Linked DNA regions of Homo sapiens: all the other regions are linked to region 3. The links are contacts of gene promoters, found by promoter capture Hi-C in human tissues and cell types (Jung and others, 2019). All regions are on one chromosome and are shown on one strand. The core of a region is centred on a gene start or on the middle of the fragment in contact, and the rest is flanking DNA. Distances in the headings are between cores, read along the strand shown.

The links. The method cuts DNA at HindIII sites, captures the fragments that hold promoters and counts their contacts. A contact is called where the count stands out against the background at its distance.
Region 1: a contact is called between a fragment that was not itself captured here and the fragment with the promoter of ADRB3 in region 3, in 1 of the 25 tissues and cell types used here (H1 embryonic stem cells).
Region 2: a contact is called between a fragment that was not itself captured here and the fragment with the promoter of ADRB3 in region 3, in 1 of the 25 tissues and cell types used here (bladder).

Annotation. Positions count from the first base shown.
Region 1 is chr8:37,835,019-37,837,898 of GRCh38, reverse strand. It overlaps ADGRA2 (adhesion G protein-coupled receptor A2), which reads right to left. Exons shown (of 19, transcript NM_032777.10): 12 at 2,501-2,725; 13 at 2,129-2,345; 14 at 1-168. Among named protein-coding and RNA genes, the nearest start is that of BRF2, 13 kb to the left of the region's middle. The HindIII fragment of the contact is 5,878 bases long and covers 1-2,880 here.
Region 2 is chr8:38,170,351-38,173,315 of GRCh38, reverse strand. LSM1 (LSM1 homolog, mRNA degradation associated) reads left to right here. Exons shown (of 4, transcript NM_014462.3): 2 at 1,283-1,351. Among named protein-coding and RNA genes, the nearest start is that of LSM1, 4.7 kb to the left of the region's middle. The HindIII fragment of the contact is 4,514 bases long and covers 1-2,965 here.
Region 3 is chr8:37,964,965-37,967,970 of GRCh38, reverse strand. ADRB3 (adrenoceptor beta 3) reads left to right here and starts at 1,372. Exons shown (of 2, transcript NM_000025.3): 1 at 1,372-2,706. The coding sequence starts at 1,502. RefSeq lists an enhancer at 1,639-2,373. The HindIII fragment of the contact is 25,598 bases long and covers 1-3,006 here.

The DNA of each region.
Region 1 (2,880 bases), core at 193-2,692, 130 kb after region 3:
CGCTGACATTGGGCTGGCTGGAGCGGAGCTGGCAGCCCTCCGAGGTCCAGCCCCCAGCCTCCCCGGGCCCCTCCTGGCTCCACCAAGCGGCCACAGGTTCGGCTCCCTCAGCCCAGTGCCGCAGCGAAACGGCCACTGGCTCTGTCAGGTTTCCCACGCCACAGCCACCTACAGCGGGAGAGGGACGTCCACACAGACACACACAGGGTGTCAGGGAGGTGGGCTCAGCCGGGACTCAGCAGCAGCAGCAGTGACAGGGTGTGTACTAGGCACCTGCCAGGCAGGGCACAGTGCTGGGCTGGGGGCATGCGGTGAGATGCCAAGGACAGCCTCAGTCTAATGGGGGACCCTGGAGGGGGTGGGTGCGGATGATGGTGGAAAATGTGAGCCCTCTGTGGTGGCCCACCCTGAGTGCTGGATGAGCAGTGATGTCATGCTCCATGGTGAGGACTCAGGCTGGCGGGGGCTCAGGGACAAGAACACAGAAATGCAGATGGAGGGAACAGAAGCCAGGCGAAGGGAGGAGGGAGGAGGGAGGCGGGCGGGATGGAGAGAGGACTAGGAGGAGGCGTTCCCAGTGGGAGAGGGGCTCCCGGAGCAGGCCCTGGGCTCCACAGACCCCTCACCCACCCGCCTCAACCCACACACTCCCACAGCCCACGCGGTTGCGGACACAGGGCTTTCACCTTCCTCAGGCCACCTTACTTGTCCTTTAAGTCTTAGTGGTTTTCGGGAAAGGCCTCGCTGGCCTCCAGCTAGGTTGGGTGGTCCCTCATCCCTGTGCCCTCCAAAACACTTCACTGCTTCTCACTTACAACGAGCTGCTCTTCACTGCTGCTCACTTACAACGAGCTGCACTTACAACGACTTGTCCACTGCCTGTCCTCTCTGCTGAAGGGTGTGTTCCTCAAGGACACAGCCGTAACTGTCTGTGCACAGGTGTGTCCCAGCTCAGGCACAGTCTGGCACATACCAGATACTCAGTGAGTGTCCCTGGCCAGAATGCAAGACCTGACAGCAAGAGTCTGTGCTAGGAACAGGATGGAACCCACGGTGGGGTGGCAGTGCCTTCTGGCTGGGCAAAGGGGGTACAGCCACATCGCTAGGACCCTAGAGGGCTCATGGAGGGAGGCAGACGTCCTGATGATGGGAAACAACCCAAGACTTTGAAGGGGCTCTCTGACGTGCAAAGTGCAGTTTGCAGAAGGTGAATCTGGTGACGGCATGAGGGATGGACTGAAGGTGGAGGTGTGGGGGCCAGAGATGGGCTGGTGTCAGCGTGGATGGTGGGAGTAACAGTGGAATCACTGGCAGAAAGAAGGCAGGTGTGGGGTCGCTGGTCCCGGGGGAGAGATGGAACGACAAAAGGGGGACTGCAGGTGATCCATCTGCTTTCTGGGTGCCAGGCCCCCAGGTGGGTGGCGAGTCAGACACTCGGTGTCTCCCACCCACCACACCTCTGCTCATGTTGTTATTCCTCTGCCCTGGTCTCCGCCCTTCCTTGGTGTCTCTGAAAGTCCTGATCATCCCTCAAGGCCCATCTGTGTCAGTCCCACCTCCGCCATGACAGCTGGAGCCATGTTGCCTTTTCAGGATGCTTCTCACCTGGGCTGCCTGTGCAGCAGCTGCCTGGAACCTCTCCTGTGGCTGCCCTGGGAGGTTACTTCACCCTCTACTGCTTAGGTAGCCTCTGGGAGCAGGGACTATGGCCTAGATGTTTTTATTCCTTCCAGCACCAGTGACAGTGCTGTTTCTAGCAGGCACCTATTCAGCATTACTTGTCTGCATTGGGCCTGTGGGGTGTGTGTGTGTGTGTGTGTGTGTGTGTGTGTGTGTGTGTGTGTGTGTGTGTGTGTGTGTTGGAGGGGGCTATGCTCATAGCCCTCTTGAAATTGAACAAATCTGGGATATAGAAGGCAATGTCTTCCTGAGGCTTTTCTCCTCCAGACCCTTTCTTTATGGGGTATCTCTACCCTCTGCCCTGTTGGGAAAAGGTGAGAGACCCAACATCCTGTGTCAGTTCCACTACGGCACTGGGGGGCTGTGGGCCAGGGAAGGGCAGGATAAAGGGGAACAGGGCGGACACACGAGAGGCACCCTGGGCGGGGCGGGGAATTCAGTCCCTTACTGGTTCCTGCGAAGATGACGGGGGTGGCCACGCCACGCCTCTTGCCAGGCCCAGCAGCTCCAGGGCGGGAGGTGTTGCTGTGGCTGTGGAAGAGGCGGCCATTTCGGAAGACGAGCAGTTGCAGGGTGCAGTCTGGGGGCACCGGGGGAGCCAGGGCAGCCGGAAGGGATGAGAATAGACTCGGGGGCAGCTGGATGGAGGCCAGGGCCACGCTGTTCTGGGGGGACATAGGAGCTCCTCAGAGACACCAGGACCCCCTAGAGCACTGATGTCTTGCAGCCCCCTCCTCCCACCTCCTCTCACTGCCCCCACCAGGCACCTGCATCTGAGTGCCTCCCTTCTCCCACCCCCTCTCCCTCCCCCAGCGCCCACCTTGATGTGGAAGGACGACAGAGAAACATTGGGCCTCCCGGTGGTGCAGCGGAAGCGGAGCTGCTGGTCAGCTGGGGGCTCGGGCTCAGGTGGGGGGTTCTGGCCAGGGCTTCCTGGCCGTGTGCCCGGCACCCCTCCCTCCCTCCTCTGGAAGGCTGTGCAGGTCAGGCCCACGTAGCTGTGCGGCTTGATGAGGTAGGCCTCCAATGCCACGTTCCTCGCATTCTGGGGACAGGGACCTTGTCATCCCACCATTTGAGATGGTGGCCTTCTGCTTGGGACTGCACATCTCTCTCAATGGGCCTGCTCAGGCTGTAGTCCTCCCCTTCAATCCTCAGTTTTTTCAAAGCCACCTCTCTCTCTTTTTTTTTTTAGAGGAA
Region 2 (2,965 bases), core at 329-2,828, 210 kb before region 3:
ATACCTCCTTCAGAAATACAGTTTCTCTCTCTGTAGTCTCATATAATTAAGATTTGCTTTCTGTGGTACTTATTTATAGCGCAAGGAAGAGTATAAATTCCTTCAGGGCAGAGTCACTGTGTTTTTCCTCTGTTCTGCATCTAGAAAGTACTTTAGGCATGGAATGAAAGAAATTTTGCTGGGTGCGCTAGTAACTGGCTTATTTTCATTCTTCAGTGTCAGCTCAAAGTCACCTCTTCAGAGAGGCTTTCCCTTGCCACCCTTCCTTCTGTAACCACTTCTCTCCCTTCATCATACTGCCTTGCTAGTTTATTATTCCATTGTCCTAATCACAATAGGTTATTTTCTTATTTATTTGTCCTCCTCCAACATGAATATAAATTCATAAGGTTGGTGACTTTCTAAGTCTCATTCTCTACTGTATGTCTAGACCCCAGAACAGCACATGCCCCCTCAGTAAACATTGAATTTCTGCTCTAGCTTATTATTAGTCTTCATTTTAAATGCCTGAAGCATTGTGTTTTTATTTAAAGCCTTCTATGGTTACAAACAAAATGTGAGATAGAAGCTCATCTTTTGAGGACAAAATAATTCTACAAATAAGATAATAGTCATCTAGATTAAATTTGTCAATTTACAGATATAAAAACTGACATGACATGAGATGGTTTAAGTGTCAAACATAAGGGTCTTTGGCTAGGCGCCATGGTTCACGCCTGTAATCCCAGCACTTTGGGAGGTGGAGGTGGATGGATCATCTGAAGTCAGGAGTTTGAGACCAGCCTAGCTAACATGGTGATACACCATCTCTACTAAAAATATGAAAATTAGCCAGGCATGGTGGCAAACTCCTGTAGTCCCAGCTACTAAGGAGGCCGATGCAGGAGGATCGCTTGAACCTGGGAGGCAGAGGTTGTAGTAAGCCGAGATTGTGCCACTGCACTGCAGCCTGGGTGACAGAGTGAGACTCTGTCTCAAAAAAAAAAAAAAAGAAAAAAGGAAAAAAAAAAAACCAACATAAGGGTCTAGAGCCAGCTAGTCAGGCTTCCTGGTGCCACGCCCTGTCCTTTTCCCACTCTGCCACACTGCTCTGATTCTTTTCACTACTGATGTTATCTAAATCCGCGTTGCTGTGCTGCTTTTTTCAGTTTTCCAATGAACTTGAACTTCACATTAAATGCATTGGCCGAGGAAGTGGTACAGCTTAAACTGTTAATTATTATCCTAAATACTCGCTGAACTTGTCAGTTTTCATTTAAAAGATTTTTTCCTCTCTCCCCAGAAAAGCACTTGGTTCTGCTTCGAGATGGAAGGACACTTATAGGCTTTTTAAGAAGCATTGATCAATTTGGTATGTATTAATTTATGGACATCTCTTATACTCTGGATAATAACAGCAGCCCATTGCATTTTTTGTTATTTAATATTGAAATTTATCTGCAACTTTTTCACGTGTGTGACCTAGTAGGACTGATTTTAGTGAGTACATCATTGTTTTCTATACATTCAGATTAGGTGGTTCAAAGCTTATATATATTTCCAAGCTCGTTTCTAAAACTGGCTTTCAGTAGAATCCCCAGTAGGGGGAGCCAAATGATAGAAATAAACTCAGTCCACCGAAGAGGCTTGTTTTGTTTTGTTTTGTTTTTTGTTTAGACGCGCTCTCGGTCACCCAGGCTGGAGTGCAGTGGCACAATCTTGGCTCACTGCAACCTCCGCCTCTTGGGTTCAAGTGATTCTTGTGCCTCAGCCTCCCAAGTAGCTGAGATTATAGGCTCCAGCCACCACCCCCAGCTAATTTTTGTATTTTTAGTAGAGACGGGGTTTCGCCATGTTGGCCAGGCTGGTTTCAAACTCCTGACCTTAGGTGATCCACCCACCCAGCTGAGCTGGGCAGTTGTTCTGCTCCTCATGGTTTTAGGACAGTCCCTTGGTGTCTAGAAGGTGAGTCAGCTGGTTTGAAGGAGCTTCACTCACATGTCTGGTGCATCAGTGGGGACAGCTGGAAGGCTGGTCTTAGCTCCCATAGTGCTGAGATTATAGGCGCGAGCCATTGTGCCCGGCCCAAGGCTGCTTATTTCTACATTGGCAGGGTAAAATGACTTCAAAGCAGTTCCGGAAGTGAAGGTAATCCCTCCCTAGCCAATGAAAATTGGGTAGAAGGCATTTCCTTTATTTTAAGGACCCCAACATTAAGCTTAATACTTTACATATAGGGATACATTGGAATAAGAGGCCTCTGTCTTTGTTTCGCATCCTGCATTTTTCTTAAGTTAAAAGATTATGTTTCCTTCTGTTTCAAGGAACTTCATGTTCATGCTAACATTTATTGGATATCTGCGAAATCACTGGATTTGAGCATGAGGAAGAAACGTAATTAAAACACTTAAAAGGATTATGGAAGATATGAACATAGATTTCTCCTTTACTTCAAATAGGACAAGTAGTACTAATTGAAAGAGGAAAAATAATTATTGTTAACAAATTGGAGTCCTGATTCTTAAGTCAGATTCATCAGAGTACTTTGAGGGAAGGGTAGTGGCTATTAAGTTGACTTTTAGATTACAAATATAGTTATCTGTCAAGGTGAAAAAATAGGTTTTTGCTGTATCATAACCCATGGATACCTGCGTTGGGTCAAATGAATCCTAATTACTAAAAGAAAGTTGAATCTTCAGCAGATCATCACATACACACCCACACAAAAAGAAAAGCTGTTTCTTTCCAGAAAACAAAAGTTTTGATCTCTGTGGTTGTTTAGGCCCAAGTTTTCCAAGTTCCTTATTCATTTATATTTTCCTATGGTTTTTTTTGGTATTAGCAATTAACTGATAAAGGAATTTATTTCTCTTATTTCTGCTGTCATTCATGTATTAGCCCAACATAATCCCAGACATCTCCTAACTGGTACGTCTTACTCAATGAAATAGGAGAAGATTATTTGAAATTTTAGCCTTCCCCAGAA
Region 3 (3,006 bases), core at 123-2,622:
TTAGTAGAGACAGGGTTTCTCCTTGTTGTTCAGGCTGGTCTTGAACTCCTGACCTCAGGTGATCTGCCCACCTCGACCTCCCAAAGTGCTGGGATTACAGGCGTGAGCCACCGCGCCCACCTGTTGATTCATCCATTTTTAATATGTCTTTATAGCAGAAAGATTTTAAGAGAAGGGGCTATCTAGAAAATCTCTAGGTGGAAAGGTGCATGGAAGGGGCAGTGCAGAGTGGGGAAGATGGAGAAATTGAAATTCTTCAGCATCCCAGACTACATAGTGCCAAATCCAAATGCAAATCCAGAGCTAGCAATGAAAAAGACTCCTGGCCGGGCGCGATGGCTCACGCCTGTAATCCCAGCACTTTGGGAGGCCGAGGCGGGCGGATCACGAGGTCAGGAGATCGAGACCATCCTGGCCAACATGGTGAAACCCCGTCTCTACTAAAAATATAAAAATTAGTTGGGCATGCTGGCGGGTGCCTGCAGTCCCAGCTACTTGGGAGGCTGAGGCAGGAGAAGCGCTTGAACCCGGGAGGTGGAGATTGCAGTGAGCAGACATCACATCATTGCACTCCAGCCTCCAGCCTGGGTGACAGAGCGAGACGCCGTCTCAAAAAAAAAAAAAAAAAGAAAAGAAAAAGAAAAAGACTCCTGAGCCTCCTAGTGGTTCACGCCTGCAATTCCAACTACTCAGGAGGCTGGGACAGGAGGGTGGCTTGAGCCCGGGAGTTCAAAGCCAGCCTGGGAAAAATAGAGAGAGAGAGAGACTTGAAATATGGTAAATTTCCTCAGTACCTGAAAATATTAAAAAAAACAAAAAGCTAGAAGGAAAGAGAAGGTAACTGAAACAGAAGGGAAAGGGGACAGATCTCACCAAGCTGAGGTCTTGGGAGAGGAGATACTGGCTGAGCCCTATTACTTAATTTAAAATACCTTAGGGGAGGCCACCCAAGTGGATGCGGGGCTCCTGTGAATCCTTTGCTTGACTCCAGCGGGTTACCTTTGCCTCTGATACATAAAGGGTGGGGATGGGAGCGCTCTCCTCTCTCCTTCCCCTGCCTTGCTGTGGGAACTTCTGGGAAAGGAGGTGCAGGGCTCCAGGAAGCCAGTGCCCAGGGAGTGCTATGCTGAGTCCAGGAGCCTGGCCACGGCAGGGGTGGACAGATGGTGGCAGAGGAACCACGGTGTCCCTTCCTCCAGATTTAGCTAAAGGAAACGTGGAGCATCCCATTGGCCATCCTCCCCACTCTCCAATTCGGCTCCAGAGGCCCCTCCAGACTATAGGCAGCTGCCCCTTTAAGCGTCGCTACTCCTCCCCCAAGAGCGGTGGCACCGAGGGAGTTGGGGTGGGGGGAGGCTGAGCGCTCTGGCTGGGACAGCTAGAGAAGATGGCCCAGGCTGGGGAAGTCGCTCTCATGCCTTGCTGTCCCCTCCCCTGAGCCAGGTGATTTGGGAGACCCCCTCCTTCCTTCTTTCCCTACCGCCCCACGCGCGACCCGGGGATGGCTCCGTGGCCTCACGAGAACAGCTCTCTTGCCCCATGGCCGGACCTCCCCACCCTGGCGCCCAATACCGCCAACACCAGTGGGCTGCCAGGGGTTCCGTGGGAGGCGGCCCTAGCCGGGGCCCTGCTGGCGCTGGCGGTGCTGGCCACCGTGGGAGGCAACCTGCTGGTCATCGTGGCCATCGCCTGGACTCCGAGACTCCAGACCATGACCAACGTGTTCGTGACTTCGCTGGCCGCAGCCGACCTGGTGATGGGACTCCTGGTGGTGCCGCCGGCGGCCACCTTGGCGCTGACTGGCCACTGGCCGTTGGGCGCCACTGGCTGCGAGCTGTGGACCTCGGTGGACGTGCTGTGTGTGACCGCCAGCATCGAAACCCTGTGCGCCCTGGCCGTGGACCGCTACCTGGCTGTGACCAACCCGCTGCGTTACGGCGCACTGGTCACCAAGCGCTGCGCCCGGACAGCTGTGGTCCTGGTGTGGGTCGTGTCGGCCGCGGTGTCGTTTGCGCCCATCATGAGCCAGTGGTGGCGCGTAGGGGCCGACGCCGAGGCGCAGCGCTGCCACTCCAACCCGCGCTGCTGTGCCTTCGCCTCCAACATGCCCTACGTGCTGCTGTCCTCCTCCGTCTCCTTCTACCTTCCTCTTCTCGTGATGCTCTTCGTCTACGCGCGGGTTTTCGTGGTGGCTACGCGCCAGCTGCGCTTGCTGCGCGGGGAGCTGGGCCGCTTTCCGCCCGAGGAGTCTCCGCCGGCGCCGTCGCGCTCTCTGGCCCCGGCCCCGGTGGGGACGTGCGCTCCGCCCGAAGGGGTGCCCGCCTGCGGCCGGCGGCCCGCGCGCCTCCTGCCTCTCCGGGAACACCGGGCCCTGTGCACCTTGGGTCTCATCATGGGCACCTTCACTCTCTGCTGGTTGCCCTTCTTTCTGGCCAACGTGCTGCGCGCCCTGGGGGGCCCCTCTCTAGTCCCGGGCCCGGCTTTCCTTGCCCTGAACTGGCTAGGTTATGCCAATTCTGCCTTCAACCCGCTCATCTACTGCCGCAGCCCGGACTTTCGCAGCGCCTTCCGCCGTCTTCTGTGCCGCTGCGGCCGTCGCCTGCCTCCGGAGCCCTGCGCCGCCGCCCGCCCGGCCCTCTTCCCCTCGGGCGTTCCTGCGGCCCGGAGCAGCCCAGCGCAGCCCAGGCTTTGCCAACGGCTCGACGGGTAGGTAACCGGGGCAGAGGGACCGGCGGCTCAGGGTCGGGAAGCATGCGATGTGTCCGTGGGTCAACTTTTTGAGTGTGGAGTTTATTAAGAGAAGGTGGGATGGCTTTGCTTGGAGAGAAAAGGGAACGAGGAGTAGCGAACCAAAATGGGACCCAGGGTCCTTTTCTTTCCGGATCCAGTCACTAGGGTAGAAGCAAAGGAGGGCGAGCGGGCCGTCGTTCCTCACCCAAGGACCCAAGGTGCGCCACCGGAAAGCGCTGCGGTGTCCCGAGGACTCTCGCCTCGCCTGGTCGGCTT